6 separate regions of the Homo sapiens genome follow, and regions 1, 2, 3, 4 and 6 are each linked to region 5. Evidence: promoter capture Hi-C in 16 types of primary human blood cells and fetal thymus (Javierre and others, 2016). All regions are on one chromosome and are shown on one strand. The core of a region is centred on a gene start or on the middle of the fragment in contact, and the rest is flanking DNA. Distances in the headings are between cores, read along the strand shown.

Region 1 (3,078 bases), core at 1-2,500, 750 kb before region 5:
GGCACCCCCTGCTCCCAGGACACAAGCTTCTCCAGCAGCCGACAAGATACCCCATCTTCCTTTGGCCAGTTCACACCTCAGTCCTCCCAAGGAACCCCCTACACGTCTCGGGGCAGCACCCCCTACTCTCAGGACTCTGCCTACTCCAGCAGGTACAGAGCAGACCCCGCCTGGGGCCCCGCCCGCAAAGTCTGGGAGCTGCCACTGGGAAGAAGATGCCCAGAGTCTGTCTCCAAGAGGGAGTTGGAAATAATTTGTCCTAGTTTCTCTGTGGATTCAGTCAACAAATTGCTGTCCTCGGGGAACACACTAGCTAGGAACCCAACATATAGCTCTTCTTTTGGAGGGCAGCATAGAGGGGCTTTGGGCCCTGGGACCCAGTACGCTGTGGTTTGGTCATAGAGAGCTGAGTCCAGCTAACTCCCCTGCTTCTTCTCCAGCACCACTTCAACCTCCTTCAAGCCCCGGCGGTCAGAGAACAGCTACCAAGATGCCTTTTCCCGCCGCCACTTCTCTGCATCTTCAGCCTCCACAACCGCCTCCACGGCCATCGCCGCCACCACTGCAGCCACTGCCTCATCCTCCGCCTCTTCCTCCTCATTGTCCTCGTCCTCCTCGTCATCCTCTTCCTCCTCGTCCTCTCAGTTTCGTAGTTCTGATGCAAACTACCCAGCGTATTATGAAAGCTGGAATCGCTACCAGCGCCATACTTCCTACCCACCACGCCGGGCCACACGGGAGGAACCCCCTGGAGCCCCTTTTGCTGAAAATACAGCTGAGCGCTTCCCACCTTCTTACACCTCCTACCTGCCCCCCGAGCCCAGCCGGCCCACCGACCAGGACTACCGGCCTCCTGCCTCAGAGGCTCCACCCCCGGAGCCTCCAGAACCTGGTGGAGGCGGGGGTGGAGGAGGGCCCAGCCCTGAGAGAGAAGAAGTTCGGACTTCCCCCCGCCCAGCCTCCCCTGCCCGCTCTGGCTCCCCAGCCCCGGAGACCACCAATGAGAGTGTGCCCTTCGCCCAGCACAGCAGCCTGGATTCCCGCATCGAGATGCTGCTGAAGGAGCAGCGCTCCAAGTTTTCCTTCTTGGCCTCTGACACAGAGGAGGAGGAAGAGAACAGCAGCATGGTCCTTGGGGCCAGAGATACAGGGAGTGAGGTGCCTTCTGGGTCAGGGCATGGGCCCTGCACACCCCCTCCGGCCCCAGCTAATTTTGAGGATGTGGCACCTACAGGGAGCGGGGAGCCAGGGGCTACCCGGGAGTCTCCCAAGGCAAATGGACAGAACCAGGTGAGGTTGGGGTCAGCCAGAGGAGGCACCTGGGCTCTGGGAGTCAGGGTTGGGCCTAGGGGAGAGGGAAGGGAACCAGATGAGAAAGTAGGGCTTGGGTCAGGCAGAAGCCTTCTGTGACCCTCTTCTGCCCCCGCAGGCTTCTCCATGCTCTTCTGGAGACGACATGGAGATCTCCGACGACGACCGGGGTGGCTCACCCCCTCCGGCCCCGACGCCCCCTCAGCAGCCTCCGCCACCTCCCCCTCCCCCGCCGCCTCCTCCTCCCTACCTGGCGTCCCTTCCTCTTGGTTATCCTCCCCACCAACCTGCCTACCTCCTCCCACCCAGACCTGATGGGCCGCCGCCCCCTGAGTACCCCCCACCTCCTCCACCACCCCCGCACATCTATGACTTTGTGAACTCCTTGGAGCTCATGGACCGACTTGGGGCTCAGTGGGGAGGGATGCCCATGTCCTTCCAGATGCAGACCCAGATGTTAACTCGGCTCCATCAGCTGCGGCAGGGCAAGGGATTGATTGCCGCCTCAGCTGGCCCCCCCGGTGGGGCCTTTGGGGAGGCCTTCCTCCCGTTTCCACCCCCGCAGGAGGCAGCCTACGGCTTGCCGTATGCTCTATATGCACAGGGGCAGGAGGGCAGAGGGGCATACTCACGGGAGGCCTACCACCTGCCCATGCCAATGGCAGCCGAGCCCCTGCCCTCCTCCTCAGTCTCGGGAGAGGAGGCCCGGCTGCCACCCAGGGAAGAAGCAGAGCTGGCAGAGGGCAAGACCCTCCCGACAGCAGGCACCGTGGGCCGTGTGCTCGCCATGCTGGTCCAGGAGATGAAGAGCATCATGCAGCGAGACCTCAACCGCAAGATGGTGGAGAACGTGGCCTTCGGAGCCTTTGACCAGTGGTGGGAGAGCAAGGAGGAGAAGGCCAAGGTGAGGCCAGCGCCTGGGACCGGGGAGCCCTGGGCTTTGCAGGAGGAAATGGGCCTCTGGCTCCTCCAGGCTGCACAGCTCAGAGGAGACAGGTGATGGAGGCGAGTGGAGAGAGGCCGCAGGCCCTGCAGGCCACCCTGGGTGGGCAGGGGAGTTGAGGGGACAGAGAAGCAGGCACAGATGGGCCTGGGAGGCAGCAGAGCTTTGTCCTGGCTCCATTCCTTGCTGGCTTGCAGTGGACAAGGCCCTTAGCTCTCTTCAAGCTTTGGTCTTCCATTTTGCCACTTGTGAAGTGGGAATGGTGGCTATTTCTTAAGACTGGTGGGCGAAATGACAGACTTTTGAGAAAATGCCGTGCGGGGGCTGGGACAGGTGTGACCAAGATATGGAGCAGCAAGTAGATGCGTTCTGTATTCCTGGGGTCCGGGAGTAGGTCTCAGGCAGGAGGGAATGCCTGGGTTCTGGGCGCTGGGGCTCAGCCCCACTGCTGCCTGCAGCCATTCCAGAACGCGGCCAAGCAGCAAGCCAAGGAGGAGGATAAAGAGAAGACGAAGCTGAAGGAGCCTGGCCTGCTGTCCCTCGTGGACTGGGCCAAGAGCGGGGGCACTACGGGCATCGAGGCTTTCGCCTTTGGGTCAGGGCTGAGAGGGGCCCTGCGGCTGCCTTCATTCAAGGTACTCAGAACTGTCGTTTTGTGGGGTAGGGTGGGGAGAGGGAGAGGGGGCCCCCTTCCTTGGGGTAGGGGTGGTCAGGAACCATGAGTGTTTGAGTTTTTTCTTTTTTTTGAGATGGAGTCTTACTCTGTTGCCCAGGCTGGAGTGCAGTGGCCTGATCTCAGCTCACTGCAACCTCCGCCTCCCGGG
Region 2 (2,835 bases), core at 311-2,810, 710 kb before region 5:
GGATTCACTTGCTTTCATCCAGCCCCTTCCAACTTCACACCCACCTACTCTTGCTGGCTTGGATTTCCCAGTTGCAACCTGCAGCTGCTCAACCCTCCACCCGCAGGGCTCAGAGACACAAAGAGATTTACCCACCCACAGCACCACTGCCACCGACAGACAGACTCGAGACACAGACAGAAGAGCTGACACCCAAGGCACACAGGAATAGGCCCCCCCGACACCCACACGGAGATGCACTGATGCTGGCGTTCACCCGCACGCAGACTCACAGCTGAGCCGCACTGACATGTGTGGACACACTGGCTTTCAGCTGCACCCCTGAGGACATTTGGGAGGGCTCACTGGGCTTGTTCTTCCAGCTTCTCCGAGCCTCATGTCTGCACACACACTCAGAGCTGGACAGGAGAGGCTGTAGGGGAGGTGCCCTGTGCTACACACACCTGAGTCCTTCTCTGCTTGGGACAGAGGTCTGACAGCAAAATCTGAGTCCATCAAGCTTAATGACATCTGGAGCCCTGATCAGCCCCAGTGGAAATGTATACAGAGTTCATTCTGATTTCCAAAAAGAACCCAGCCAGAGCTCAGACAGAATCCAAACCCCAGAGGCTGGGTGAAATCAAGACAGGATCCAAACAGCATCCACCTGGGGGTGTACTCAGTTGGAATCCAAAAAGAAGAGCTTGCCAGGGTCCCAGCGGAACGCAGACAGGGCCTAACAGAAACCAGACAGGCTCAGACTGAACTAGCCGAGGCTCACACGGATCCCAGACAGATCCCAGACAGCTCAGATTGAACCTAGACAGGGCCAGATGGGACCTAGGTGCAGTCCACACAGCCAAAACTCAGGATCAGCAGTGCCCCACAGCCCCAGGAAAAGCCAGCACAGCCTGGGGGGCCTCCAGCTCCACGCTCCTGAGCCACCCCAGCCTCCCTGCTAAGCCCAGCCCAAATGGAACTCCAGGGAGTCTTCACACAGACGCTGGGCCCACACTGTGTCGGAAAATGTGTTCAGCACTTGTGTTGAATTTCCAGACAATCCCAACCATCCGCCTGGAAAGGGAGTTTCCTCTGTCTTGGCTCACAGCTGCCCCCAGAAAGTGGGGCGGCACAGGTGGCATAAGTTGGGGACCCTGAGAGGCTCTGGGATGCTGGGCTCACCTCTGAGGACCCATCGGCCTACCATGATGCTCTTCACTTTCTCTGTCCTCAAAATCCAGCTGTGCTACAAGGCCTCCTTCCCCTAGAGCCAAAAGCCTTCCTCTGCCCTTTCTCTCCCTTCAACCACTCACTCAGCCACCAGCCTCACGCAGGTCATGCGGCCTCTCCCTGGCCCGGGTGCCTGAGGACTTTCCTGTTCTCTGTGTCTCTCCCTTCCCCATGCTAATGTTAGGAAGTCTTTCCTAAAATCTAATTTCAATCTCTCCTGTTGTTCTTGGAGCCACCTCCCTTAGGTTCATCTCTGGAGCACCCTGGGCTACCTATTTGTTTGCCCTCAAGACAGGAAGAATGATAGAAGGCCCAAGTGTGGTTTATTTGGTATAATAAATACAAAGAGAGCTGGGAGCTAATAATCCTCTACCATTTACAAACACTTTTACATCCATAATCCGTTTTGATCCTCAGCACCACCAGCCCTGAGAGAAAAGCTGCATAAACATCATCGTCCCCATTTCACAGATGAGGGAACAGGAAGCCAGGGGGGTAAAAGGAGAGTGACTTGCCCAAGGGCACCCAGGCCACATAGGGCCAGAAAACCATGGGCATCCAGCCCCTCAAAGACCGCTGTTAGGCTCCAGACTGGGCTACCTCCCCCACTGACTTTCCGCTCCCAGTTACTTTCCCTCTCAGTGAGCGCCTGCTAAGTCCCAATCTGGGGAAGGCTCTGTGTCCGGACAACCTAGCAAAACAAGAGCACTTGATGGTATTTTTTGCGTAAGTCTTACATTCTTGTTATCTCATTTAATCTTCATTAGGACTCTGTAAGGACCATTGGCCAACATAATTATACTTATGCAAATATTTAGATGATGTTTTACAATGTGCCAGGCACTGTTCTATGTGCTCCACATATATCTATCCATTTCATTCTTACAACAGTCCCCTTGGAGGTATTATTATAGCCCCCTTTTATAGATGGGGAAACTGAGGCATAGAGCTAAATAACTCAGGCCAGTTGTAGTGGCTCACGCCTGTAATCCCAGCACTTTGGGAGGCTCTGGTGGGAGGATCACTTGAACCCAGGAGTTCAAGACCAGCCTGGGCAACATAGCAAGATCATGTCTCTACAAAAAATACAAAAATTAGCTGGGCATGGTGGTGCGCACCTGTAGTCTCAGCTACTTGGGAGGGTGAGGTAGGAGGATCCCCGGAGCTCAGGAGGTCAAGAGACTGCAGTGAGCTGTGATTGTGCCACTGCACTCCAGCCTGGGTGACAGAGCAAGACCCCGTTTCTTAAAAAAAAAAAAAAAAGAACTTGCCCCAGGTCAGCTGTTAGAAGACCATTTGGCTCTACCCCTGAGCCTAGTCTCTGCATTTGCTGAGTGGTAACAATGCCTACCACCGGCTGATTCCATGTTACAGACAAGGAAACAGGCTCAGAGAGGTTGCCTGACCTGCCTAAAGCTTCACAGCAAATGAGGCCAGAGGTAGGACCTGAACCCAGGACTGTCTGGCACTAAATGTCAGGCTCTCTCCCTTCTGTCCTGCTGACAGATGGCAGTCCCTCCTGGTCCTAAAAAGCCCACTCTGCCATGTCCTCAGGACTGCTGAACTCCTGCAGCCAGGACAGAAAATCAGTAGGAGGGGCCCAGGGCTGCAGGAAGAGCTTGGACA
Region 3 (2,750 bases), core at 124-2,623, 770 kb before region 5:
TGTTTTTTTTTTGAGACGGAGTCTCGCTCTGTCGCCCAGGCTGGAGTGCAGTGGCACGATCTCGGCTCACTGCAAGCTCCACCTCCCAGATTCACGCCATTCTCCTGCCTCAGCCTCCCGAGTATCTGGGACTACAGGCGCCCTCCACCACGCCCAGCTAATTTTTTGTATTTTTTTTTTAGTAGAGACGGGGTTTCACTGTGTTAGCCTGGATGGTCTTGATCTCCTGACCTAGTGATCCACCCACCTCGGCCTCCCAAAGTGCTGGGATTACACGCATGAGCCACCGCGCCCGGCAACAATACTGGTTTTAAGTGCAAAGAGGAGATGATTCAAAGATAAATCATGTTACGCAGATAAGTGAACAGCAAATACTGGAGCTTGGGAATCACTGCCCCAGCCCAGGGCTTCTACAAGGAAAAGCCTTTCAGAGTCATGAGGGCAGGGAGGGAGGCAAGAGAAAGCTTCCCTTGGGAGGCCAAGGGAAGGATCGCTTGAGCTCAGGAGTTCAAAACCAGCCTGGACAACCTTGTCTCTACTAAAAATAAAAAAATAGGCCAGGCACAGTGGCTCACGCCTGTAATCCCAGCACTATGGGAGGCCAAAGTGGGCAGATCACCTGAGGTCAGGATTTCGAGACCAGCCTGGCCAACATGGAGAAACCCTATCTCTACTAAAAATACAAAAAATTAGCCGGGCGTGGTGGCGCATGCCTGTAATCCCAGCTACTCTGGAGGCTGAGGCGGGAGAATCGCTTGAACTTGGGAGATGGTGGTTTCAGTGAGCCAAGATCACACCATTGCACTCCAGCCTGGGCAACAAGAGCGAAACTCTGTCTCAAAAAAAAAAAAAAAGTCAGGTGTGGTGGCATGTGCCTGTAGTCCCAGCTACTCAGGAGGCTGAGGTAGGAGGATGGCTTGAGCCCAGGAGTTTAAGGTTGCAGTGAGCTGTGATCGCAGTACTGCACCCCAGCCTGGGTGACTAAGCAAGACACTGTCTCAAGAAAAAAAAAAAAAAGCTTCCTGGGCCTGCTGCTTCTGACACAGTCTATTGAGTCTCAGAGGCATTTCTGGACATGCCTTTGAGAACTACTGAACTCAGAGAAGAGAGTTCTCAAACTGAGTCCAAAGGAACTTCAGTGTACTACAAAATGTTACTAGATTACCTTGGGAGAGGTGGGGAAGGATTCCTGGGGAAGTACGTTTGAGAGGCCCTTCTCCAGTTCACTGCATGTTTTTTGTTTGTTTGTTTGTTTGTTTGTTTTTGAGATGGAGTCTCTCACTGTTGCCCCAGCTGGTGTGCAGTGGTGCGATCTCGGCTCGCTGCAATCTCCGCCTCCCGGGTTCAAGTAATTCTCCTGCCTCAGCCTCCCGAGTAGCTAGGATTACAGGCGCCCGCCACCATGCCCAGCTAATTTTTTGTACTTTTAGTAGAGACAGGGTTTCACTAGTAGAACAGCCAGGCTGTTCTCGAATTCCTGACCTCATGATCCACCCACCTCGGCCTCCCAAAGTGCTGGGATTACAGGTGTGAGCCACTGCACCCAGCCCACTGCATGTTAGATAGTCTGTTGAGGCCTGTGGAGTGCTCGGGTTAGGAAACCTGTTTAATGTTGCTTAGGACTCGTTCATCTTTGTAGCTTCAATACTTGGGACCTATAACGCTTTCTATAATCAGAGTGAATAAATGAAATGCTGTAGATGAGGAGGTGGGGGAGAGTGGTCAGTGGAAGCTTTAAGTAGTTACTAGCTTGATTCATTCATTACAAATGGGCAGCTGGGTGCAGTAGCTCATGCCTGTAATCCCAGTGTTTTGGGAGGCCAAGGCAGGAGGATCGCTTGAGGCCAGGAGATCAAGACCAGCCTAGGCAACATAGTGAGACCCTGTCTCTACAAAAAAATTGTTTAAAAATTAGCCAGGCGTGGTGACATGTGCCTGTGGTCCCAGCTACTCAGGAGGCTGAGGTGGGAGGATTGCTTGAGCCCAGTAGGTTGAGGCTGCGGTGAGCCTGAGTCCAGCCTGGGTTACAGAGTGAGACCCTGTCTCAAAAAAAATTTTTTTTCAAAAAGTGGAAAACGCAAATCTGCCCTTGTGGAATTTACATTGTAGTTGGAGGAACACAGTAATGTAATAGGGAAGATATTAGGGCTGTAAGTCCAGCTGCGGGCAGCTGGCTGTCAAGATGGGACAGGTGTGGATCAGAAGCAGAGATGAGTAAAGGAGGCAAGGACCCATGAGCACCAGAACTCAGTCAGGAATCAAGAAGCCCAAGGGTGGCTGGAGACGACTGGATAACACCAGTCCCCTTGGCATGACATCAGGCAGCATGCGTGGCATTTGTGTATGTGTTGGGCAGCACACTTTCTATGCTGGGAGGCCCACAGCTGGGATGAGCCCATGTGACCTGACAGCTGCCCTGTGGGCAGGCAGAGTGGGGGGGCTATTGCCTTCAATCATAAACGAGGCTTCTGAGGCTCAGGGAGAGGAACAGACTTGCCCAGGGTCTCATTTCCAGTTAGTGATGGAGTTGGGTTCCAATCCCAGTGCTCTTGGCTGAGGTCAGGTGCTTCTTGCTACCCTGTTGTCTGTGTGGCCAGAAGAGAGCTGGGGTGCACCCTTGGAGCTGGGGAGCCTGGGAACTGTGGGCTGCTGAGAGCTGAGGGCTGAGGTCTCTGTCTCCCCCCTATGGCCGCCAGGTGCTATGACAAGCGTCTGTGGCCTCGAATGGACCTGAGCCGGCGGAAGTCACT
Region 4 (2,888 bases), core at 360-2,859, 670 kb before region 5:
CTGGTGGTGCCAGGAGGAGGCAGGGATAGGGAGGGCTTTGCAGCAGCTGTAGATAGGCCTGGAAGAATGGGTAAATTCAGACAGATTTGTGAAGGCACAGTTCACCATCTGTGAAAGGTATGAGCCATTTGAGGCCCTTAGCTCCAAGCTACCACTGCAGATAGAGGTTGTATGGGATAAGTGAGCAGGGGACAAGGGACTACATGATAGAAGGGGCCTGGAAGCCATCCCCAAGGAGTCTGAACTTTTGTCAGATCAAGTCTTGCCCTTGTCTTTGTTAGTGCAATTTTTTTTTCCTGCCAGGAATGTTCTTCAGTCATCTGGGGTGGGGTGGGCAAAGGCATCCTTACCTCCCTGAACCACCCCATCCTCTGAGCAGGGGGAGATGATCAATCGGATTGAGAAGAACATCCTGAGCTCAGCGGACTACGTGGAACGTGGGCAGGAGCACGTCAAGACGGCCCTGGAGAACCAGAAGAAGGCGAGGAAGGTGAGCCTCCCAGGCCCGGCCACTGCCCCAGGCACCCTGTGTGACTTCCCTGACCCCCTCCTCTCCCACAGAAGAAAGTCTTGATTGCCATCTGTGTGTCCATCACCGTCGTCCTCCTAGCAGTCATCATTGGCGTCACAGTGGTTGGATAATGTCGCACATTGTTGGTGAGATGTTGTGGGCTGCCCCCTGGCCTGCCCCAGCCCTGGCCCCAGCCCTCCCTCCTCCCTCAGACCCTGTTCTCCCTCCTTTCCTTACAGGCACTAGGAGCACCAGGAACCCAGGGCCTGGCCTTCTCTCCCAGCAGCCTGGGGGGCAGGGCAGAGCCTCCAGTCGGACCCCTTCCTCACACTGGCCCCTATGCAGAAGGGCAGACAGTTCTTCTGGGGTTGGCAGCTGCTCATTCATGATGGCCTCCTCCTTCAGGCCTCAATGCCTGGGGGAGGCCTGCACTGTCCTGATTGGCCGGGACACACGGTTTTGTAAAAAATTAAAAAACAAAAAAAGAGCATAGAAAGCCCTGTGCACGTGTGTTCCTGGAAGGGCTGGCCCAAGGCTTCCGGGCATCCAACCTCCTTACCTCCTGGACGTCCCCAGGGCCAGGTCTGGCCCTGGCTGCTCAGGTCAAACTGCCAGGGGTGCTGTGCCCACAGCAGGCTGGTTCTGCCTTTCTGCACCCCCATAGGAATGGGTGGGCAGGGAGGGGTAACACCGGCATCTAGCTCCTGGCTCAGTACTGTCCCCGGGAAAGGACCACTGTGAGTATCTGTCTTGGAAATGATGAGGCTGACCAGGCCAGGCTGGGACGCAGGTGAGATGGGGGTTTGGGTGGCATCAGTGGGCCTTCTTGTGGCCCAGAGGAAGAGGCACCATGAAAAAATGCCTAATTGAGGCTGTCACTTTGGATGCAGTGGATAGGGATGGTCTGGTTTCAGCAGGGATGACATTGGAGTGGGATGTTAAGCTGGGGAAGAGGTTGCCAGTCAGAAAGCACAGGAGGCCGGGCCCTGTGACCAACAAAAGCATCATCTTTTACATAAGCGTTTAGGCAGGGTGTGGTGGCTCGCACCAGTAATCCCAGCACTTTGGGAGGCCCAGGCAGGAGGATCTCTTGAGCCCAGGAGCTTGAGACCAGCCTAGGCAGGATGGGGCAACCTCTTCTCTTTAGAGAATAATAATTTTACAAATTAGCCAGGCGTGATGGCAAGTGTCTGTCGTCCCAGCTACTCCAGAGGCTGAGGTGGGAGGATCGCTTGAGCCCAGGAGATTAAGGCTGCAGTGAGCCATGGTCATCCCACTGCACTCCATCCTGGGTGACAGAGCGAGACCCTGTCTCAAAAATAATAGCAATCATCATCAGTAGCAGCAGCAGCAGCAGCAGCAGCATAGAGAGCCAGTGATCCTGGATCAGTGCACCTGGTTGCTGAGGGTTACCTGGCTGAAGCAGGTGGTGGCAGCAGAAAAGCCTGACCTCTGATTTCTTCCATAAGGTACCTGAAATCCAAGCCCTGACTAAATTTCTTTTTTTCTTTTTTTTTGAGACAGAGTCTTGTTCTTTTGCCCAGGCTGGAGTGCAGTGGCACTATCTCAGCTCACTGCAAGCTCCGTCTCCCAGGTTCACGCCATTCTCCTGCCTCAGCCTCCCGAGTAGCTGGGACTGCAGGCACCCGCCACCACACCCGGCTAATTTTTTGTATTTTTAGTAGAGACGGGGTTTCACCGTGTTAGGATGGTCTCGATCTACTGACATCGTGATCTGCCCTCCTCGGCCTCCCAAAGTGTTGGGATTACAGGCGTGAGCCACCGCCTAAATTTCTAAGGGCTCCTAGTCCTGATGCCTAATTTCTGGAGTGGACGTGGCTCCTGTTCCCCGACACCTAGAGTTTTTGTTTGTTTGTTTGTTTGTTTTGAGACAGAGTCTCGCTCTGTCGCCCAGCCTGGGGTGCAGTGGCGCAATCTCGGCTCACTGCAAGCTCCGCCTCCCGGGTTCACGCCATTCTCCTGCCTCAGCCTCCAGAGTAGCTGGGACTACAGGCGCCCGCCACCATGCCCGGCTAATTTTTTTTTTTTTTTTGAGACGGAGTCTTGCTCTATCGCCCAGACTGGAGTGCAGTGGTGCGATCTCCGCTCACTGCAAACTTCGCCTCCCGGGTTCACGCCATTCTCCTGCCTCAGGCTCCTGAGTAGCTGGGACTACAGGCACCCGCCACCGCGCCCGGCTAATTTTTTGTATTTTTAGTAGAGACGGGGTTTCATCGTGTTAGCCAGGATGGTCTCGATCTCCTGACCTCGTGATCCGCCCGCCTCAGCTTCCCAAAGTGCTGGGATTACAGGCATGAGCCACCGCGCCCGGCCCCCGACACCTAGTTTTAAAGGGTAAGCCGGCTCCTGGCACCTG
Region 5 (2,762 bases), core at 244-2,743:
TGGAAGCCTGGACTGGGGGAGGAGATTGCTACCCTGTGAGCCTGAGGGAGCCACGTCCAGCTGTGACCTCTACCTGGGGCTTTACAGAGAGTTGTTTATGGGTAACAGACACCTTGTTTCAGAGGGAATGGGCATGAGCTGGCAAGTGAAGCACCCCCACAGCTTATCAGGAACTTTTTCTCATTTTTAAACCATCATGTCTTCATTTCACATTGGAATAAAGTGAGGTTTTGGAACCTGCTGCCCCAGTCTCTGGATTGTGAGGGCTGTTGTCAAACAGGTTACTAGGAGAGGAATATGTATAAATTAGCTCAAATTCAAGGTTATGCTTGTAATGTCACCTGAGTGGGAAGTAAGAGGGTGGAGTCACAGGCACTCAGCTGGGATTTACCTGGCCTCGTCACTAGACTAATGGGATTGTGGCACAGGTGAACATCCCGTCATTGGAGAAGAAAGGCTGGATTGAAGGCCAGGTGGGGGAGGGGTGCTAGGCTGTGGGGTCAGGCCCTGGGCATGCTGGACCTGTTAGGTCACTGAACATCTGACTGGGCACCTGCCCAGATTTGTCCCTTCAGTTGAGGTGGGATTGGCAGCACTCCCCAGAAGGCGTGCAGTGCCGGGAGAGTGGAGGAGGGTCTGACGTTTGCTATCCTGTGGTAGGTTTTAGAGCTAACTAGATGCTTGTGGAGAGCTAATGACATGGGAAGAAGGCAGCCCACCTTGATGGACCGGAGGGTTAGAGCCTGCGATGTGAGAAGCGGGTGTGTGGAGGTGGCCTGTCTACAAGAGGGCAAGTTTAAGGCCCATTGCAGTGGCACTATCTCAGCTCACTGCAGCTGGTGGCTGCCAGGCCATCCCTCTCCAGAGCAGGGAGGCCCTCAGCCTTATGTATAATTGAATGCCTTTTGGGATGCTTGGATAGTCCTTTATGTCTTGGAAATTCAGAAAAGAAAAAAAAAATTACAATCCTCCTGTCTGTTAGTTTCCCTGAGCCAACTGGATAAAAGATGTCCCTGACCCCAAGATTTTAAGTGACACCCAAGGGAAGCCACCGTTACCTTGGCTGTTGAAGCCTCCTGCATGCTCCCCAAAAACCCCAGCAGTTTCCTCTGCAGTCCCACAGTTATGTCCTGAGCAGTGGGGTACCGTGTGATGAGAGGTGCTAAGGATGGGATGAGGGTCTTTCCTGTGTTATTAGAACGGTTAAAAAGTTGTTTTAAAGGTGCCCAAATGCCCTCCTTCTTAAACTTAATTAGCTAATAAGATGCCTTATACAAGCAAAACCAGGTACGGGAAAGCAAGTGCATTTCAAGTCCAAGCTCACCCCTTAAATTAGCTGTAATACCCTCAGCAGGTGGCCCCACCTCAATGAGCCTGTCTCCCATTCAAAAAGCAGAACGAGTGAGAGGGCGGGGCCTGGAGCTTTACCCAATCAGTGGCGTCGGAGTGGAAATCCTCCAATCGGGAGTAGCCGGAGAGCAGGGGCGGCTTCCGGGATTTGGCGGTGGCCTTTGTTGGCTGCAGTAAGAGCTCAGTCTCTTCACCAGGGGCTCCCAGTCCTTCCATCTGGGAGGCCAAGGCGGCTTCGCGTTCTGAGAATAGACAGAACCTCTGTTACTCTGTGACCGGCAGGCACCGGGAGATCCGTAGCTCAGACGCCAGGACATCCCGGAAGCTGGGAAATGGTGAATGTGCCAGGTCGGGGGTCCCCAGAAGAGGGAGAGGGGCGGTCGGAAGCGGCGGGAACCCTCTTTGAGGTTAGCTTCGGGGTCTGGGCCCTGAGTCCCCGCGGACGCAACTCGGCCCTTGGTCCCCTCCGCCGCAAGATGGCGGCCGGGCCGGCAGCCGGGACCCCGCGCGTCCGGTCCCCTCCCGACCCCGCAGAGCGACCTCTGCCATGGCCGGAGCCGTCTTTGGGTCGCCGCAGCCCGGCGTCTCCCGAGATTGTGCGGTGAGAACGTGAGGGTCTTAGGGGAAATCCCGGGTCGGCGTGTGATTCGTGTGTGGGAAGATACTGTGCCCCGTGGTGTCCCAGTCTCCTTTTTCCTCTTACAAATTAAGGGGAGTCACCCTTAAAGCGTTAAAGGGTTGATTTAGGTAAACAGCGATTGGTGAAATGGGAAGCCTGCCGCCGTGGTTTGTGGTTTAGGGTCCTCTGGAGCAGCGATTTCAAAATCCCAGGGCTCAGCTTAGGAATGCTGCTGGGGAAAAGAAATAGGGACAATCTCTCTTCCACTTTGGCTGTAGAAAACGAATACATTTCCACAGAAAGTGTGCTAGATTAATTGGTCAATTACAAACATTCATTAAAATATCAGGTCCTCTCTTTTGCAGTGGAGGATTTGTGACAGTGGATATCTGTGTTCCATATTCTACTGCTATCTGGATGTCCGACTTTAATGCCAAATGTTATGAGACAGGACTTGGCACCTCCTAGAAGTGTTCACATATACTAAATGATCTGCTATTATGGAAATAATTAAATGACATGTTTCTTGCTCGAAAGAGGTATTTTGGCCTTACCTGTTGAAGTATAAAGTGTAAGTGCCTTACAGTTTCCTTCCTTTCTATAAAAACTGTTTTGAGTGATTTTGCTATTTTCCTGAAACCTGTTAGGTCACTGAACATCTGACTGGCTGGGCACCTGCTCCTGTCCCTTCAGTTGAGGTAGGATTGGCAGCACTCCCCAGAAGGCGTGCAGTGCCAGGAGAGTGGAGGAAGGTCTGACGTTTGCTATCCTGGGGTAGGTTTTAGAGCTCGCT
Region 6 (2,856 bases), core at 54-2,553, 640 kb before region 5:
GGTTCACGAGATTTTCCTGCCTCAGCCTCCCGAGTAGCTGGAATTACAGGCATCCACCACCACGCCTGGTTAATTTTTTGTATTTTTAGTAGAGATGGAGTTTCACCATGTTGGCCAGGCTGGTCTCGAACTCCTGACCTCAGATGATCCACTGCCTCGGCTTCCCAGAGTGCTGGGATTACAGGCATGAGCCACCGTGCCTGGCTTATTTTTATTTATTTTATTATTTATTGTTATTATTATTTGAGACAGAGTCTCCCTCTGTTGCCCAGGCTGGAGTGCAATGGTGTGATGTCAGTTCACTGCGACCTCTGCCTCCTGGGTTCAAGCAATTCTTCTGCCTCAGCCTCCCAAGTATTTGGGATTACAGGTGCCTGCCACCACAGCCAGCTAATTTTTTGTATTTTTAGTAGAGATGGCCATGTTGGCTAGGCTGGTCTGGAACTCCTGACCTCAGGTGATCCACCCACCTTGGCCTCCCAAAGTGCTGGGATTACAGGCTTGAGCCACCATGCCCGGCCTATTTATTTCATTTTTATTTATTTATTTTCTTTGAGAGAAAGTCTTTGTTGCCCAGGCTGGAGTGCAGTGGCTGCATCTCAGCTCACTGCAGCCTCCACCTCCCGGATTCAAGTGATTCTCCAGCCTCAGCCTCCCGAGTAGCTGGGACTACAGGCGAAAGCCATCACACCTGGCAAACTTTTGTATTTTTAGTAGAGACAGGGTTTCACCACATTGGCCACGCTGGTCTCGAACTCCTGACCTCAAGTGATCCGACCGCCTCAGCCTCCCAAAGTGCTGGGATTACAGGCGTGAGCCACCGTGCCTGGCCTTTATTTTTATTTAGAGATTGGGTCTCACTCTGTCACCCTGGAGTGCAGTGGCTCAATCATAGCTCACTTCAGCCTCAAACTCCTGCACTCAAGCAATCCTCCTGAGTAGCTAGGACTATAGGCACCCACCACCACACCTCGCTAATTTATTAAAAATTCTTTGTATATAGAGATGGAGGTCTCACTACGCTGCCGACAGTGGTCTCAAGAACTCCTGGCTTCAGATGCTCCTCCACTATGGCTTCCTAAAGTGCTGTGATTACAGGCATGAGCCACAGTGACCAGCACCCCTCCTCTCTAATTTCCTTTATGGTGTCATCTGGACAATACTCCTTGCAAGCTTACCATGGGCAAGGTATCATTCTAAGCATTTTGTGCATAATACTCAACTACTCAAGCCAACTGCACAGCTGCCTAGCAGTTCATTATGAGTGAATGTTTGTGTTCCCTGTCCATTCATATATTGAAATTCTAACTCTCATTGTGACTGTATTTGGAGACAAGGCCTTTATGGAAGTAATTAAGGCTGAATGACGTCATAAGGGTATGGCCCTGGTCCAGTAGGATTAGCGTTCTTATGAGAAGTGACACCACAAAGAAACAAGCTTACTAGTCACGGTCCCAGCCAGTGTTCAAATCCCAAACACCTGCTCTCTGAGCCCTGACTATTGCTTTGCTAGCATTACACATCTTATGGTTTGGCTGTTAATTCTTCATCACCAGCACCAGAGTCCAGGCTGGCAAAGGGCTAGGAAACCGATCATCTGCCTCCTCTACACCCAGAACCCTGTGTGGTGACCCAAAACAAATGGAAAGAACCAACCTCAGATGAAATTTGAACCCAGGTCTGTAGCCTCTGCCTCCTCCACAGTAGGAGTTTGTGAGAATGTCCACCAATAACTGTTTATTAACTAAATTCCTCCACCTTTCCAACTCCACAAGGCTCAACTATTGCCCCAATATCCCACAGTGGGCTCCCTGTCGTGGCGATGAAGCCTTGCTTTGCCTCACTACTGGCTTAGGAAGGGGATGAAGTTCTGCTGTCTCACTAGGCAAGCAAAGATTCAATTTCCAAAAATCCTAGGCTAGGACCCTGGGGCAGGGATGAGGAGAAAAAGGAGGCACCTCAATCTTCCCATCTCTAAACAAGCAGTCACCACACAGGCCTCACGGCCAGGAGTGACGTAGTGAGCGGATGAACCCTGCAGAAGTGAGCGCTAATCATATCCTAGGCCTCCTACCGGGCCAGTTCACAACCTGATCCCAACCTACTTTTCCAGCCTCAGCTCCAGCGACAGAGTCCTCCTCCCGGCAGCGACCGAACCTCCAGCCACAATTCTCAATCCTCCACCTCTAGATGCAGTTTCCTGGGCTCGGGGAGCCCTTGCCTGCCTTCTCCAACGGGAAAGCCCCTTTACATCCTTCAAGAACCCCCTTCCCTAGTGCCCTCAGGAATACTTTATGGCAGTAGAGAGGTAAGGGCCCCACGCCGCTCTGGACCTCAGTTTCCTCATCAGTAAAATGGGGTCCCTTAAGTTTGTGGGAGTTTGAAGGGCGGTGGGGCCTACGAAGCGCGCCGAGGAGCCGAGAGTTGCAGAAACCCGGAGCTCCTCGCTCCTCGCAACCGTCTGTACGCGGCGCCCCCGCCAGCCAGGCAGCCCCTGGAGGGCAGGACCCCGGTTATAAGCCTCAGAAAACGTGGCTTCGGAGGACGTGGCAAGGAGGACTGAACGAAGGATGAGGAGATGAACAAATGAATGGACGGAAGGCCGAATGAGGGACAAAGGCTTGCAAGATGGCGTTCTCTAGGACCGCGGGAGTGGTGGCCGGGCCTCAGCAGGGGAGGGGGCCGCCGGCGCCTGGGATCTTGCAGCGCGGGCCACGCGACCGGGACAAAAACCCAAAACATGGCGGGCTCTAGGACCCCCGGGACCACACCGCGCCGGGCCAGCAGCCGCGCGGGCCGAGCCTGGGTGTCCGCAGCCCAGAACCGCGGAGACAGCCGGCGGGTTCTAGGACCTGC

The links. The method cuts DNA at HindIII sites, captures the fragments that hold promoters and counts their contacts. A CHiCAGO score of 5 or more calls a contact.
Region 1: a fragment that was not itself captured here is called in contact with the fragment with the promoter of KRABD5 in region 5 in 3 of 17 cell types (fetal thymus, non-activated CD4 T cells and activated CD4 T cells); the score reaches 7.2 in fetal thymus.
Region 2: a contact is called between a fragment that was not itself captured here and the fragment with the promoter of KRABD5 in region 5, in 2 of 17 cell types (fetal thymus and total CD8 T cells). The highest score is 6.6, in fetal thymus.
Region 3: a fragment that was not itself captured here is called in contact with the fragment with the promoter of KRABD5 in region 5 in 1 of 17 cell types (total CD4 T cells); the score reaches 5.4 in total CD4 T cells.
Region 4: a contact is called between a fragment that was not itself captured here and the fragment with the promoter of KRABD5 in region 5, in 2 of 17 cell types (total B cells and naive CD8 T cells). The highest score is 5.1, in total B cells.
Region 6: a contact is called between a fragment that was not itself captured here and the fragment with the promoter of KRABD5 in region 5, in 3 of 17 cell types (fetal thymus, naive CD8 T cells and total CD4 T cells). The highest score is 7.0, in fetal thymus.

What each region holds. Positions count from the first base shown.
Region 1 is chr16:30,964,172-30,967,249 of GRCh38, forward strand. It overlaps SETD1A (SET domain containing 1A, histone lysine methyltransferase), which reads left to right. Exons shown (of 19, transcript NM_014712.3): 6 at 1-152; 7 at 441-1,290; 8 at 1,430-2,215; 9 at 2,713-2,889. Among named protein-coding and RNA genes, the nearest start is that of SETD1A, 8.0 kb to the left of the region's middle. The HindIII fragment of the contact is 2,452 bases long and covers 25-2,476 here.
Region 2 is chr16:31,002,222-31,005,056 of GRCh38, forward strand. All of the region lies in intron 1 of STX1B (syntaxin 1B), which reads right to left. Among named protein-coding and RNA genes, the nearest start is that of STX1B, 7.0 kb to the right of the region's middle. The HindIII fragment of the contact is 2,126 bases long and covers 498-2,623 here.
Region 3 is chr16:30,939,420-30,942,169 of GRCh38, forward strand. It overlaps FBXL19 (F-box and leucine rich repeat protein 19), which reads left to right. Exons shown (of 11, transcript NM_001382779.1): 8 at 2,697-2,750. Among named protein-coding and RNA genes, the nearest start is that of ORAI3, 8.3 kb to the right of the region's middle. RefSeq lists a silencer at 2,591-2,720. The HindIII fragment of the contact is 714 bases long and covers 1,017-1,730 here.
Region 4 is chr16:31,039,162-31,042,049 of GRCh38, forward strand. It overlaps STX4 (syntaxin 4), which reads left to right. Exons shown (of 11, transcript NM_004604.5): 9 at 380-490; 10 at 562-657; 11 at 751-1,003. The coding sequence ends at 642. Among named protein-coding and RNA genes, the nearest start is that of STX4, 7.0 kb to the left of the region's middle. The HindIII fragment of the contact is 8,081 bases long and covers 1-2,888 here.
Region 5 is chr16:31,711,751-31,714,512 of GRCh38, forward strand. KRABD5 (KRAB domain containing 5) reads left to right here and starts at 1,494. Exons shown (of 5, transcript NM_001130913.2): 1 at 1,494-1,685. The coding sequence starts at 1,683. RefSeq lists an enhancer at 1,661-1,780 and a silencer at 1,871-1,930. The HindIII fragment of the contact is 15,701 bases long and covers 1-2,762 here.
Region 6 is chr16:31,070,635-31,073,490 of GRCh38, forward strand. All of the region lies in intron 1 of ZNF668 (zinc finger protein 668), which reads right to left. It also overlaps a transcript of ZNF646 not described here. Among named protein-coding and RNA genes, the nearest start is that of ZNF668, 2.2 kb to the right of the region's middle. RefSeq lists enhancers at 2,482-2,856, 2,574-2,856 and a silencer at 2,757-2,856. The HindIII fragment of the contact is 265 bases long and covers 1,172-1,436 here.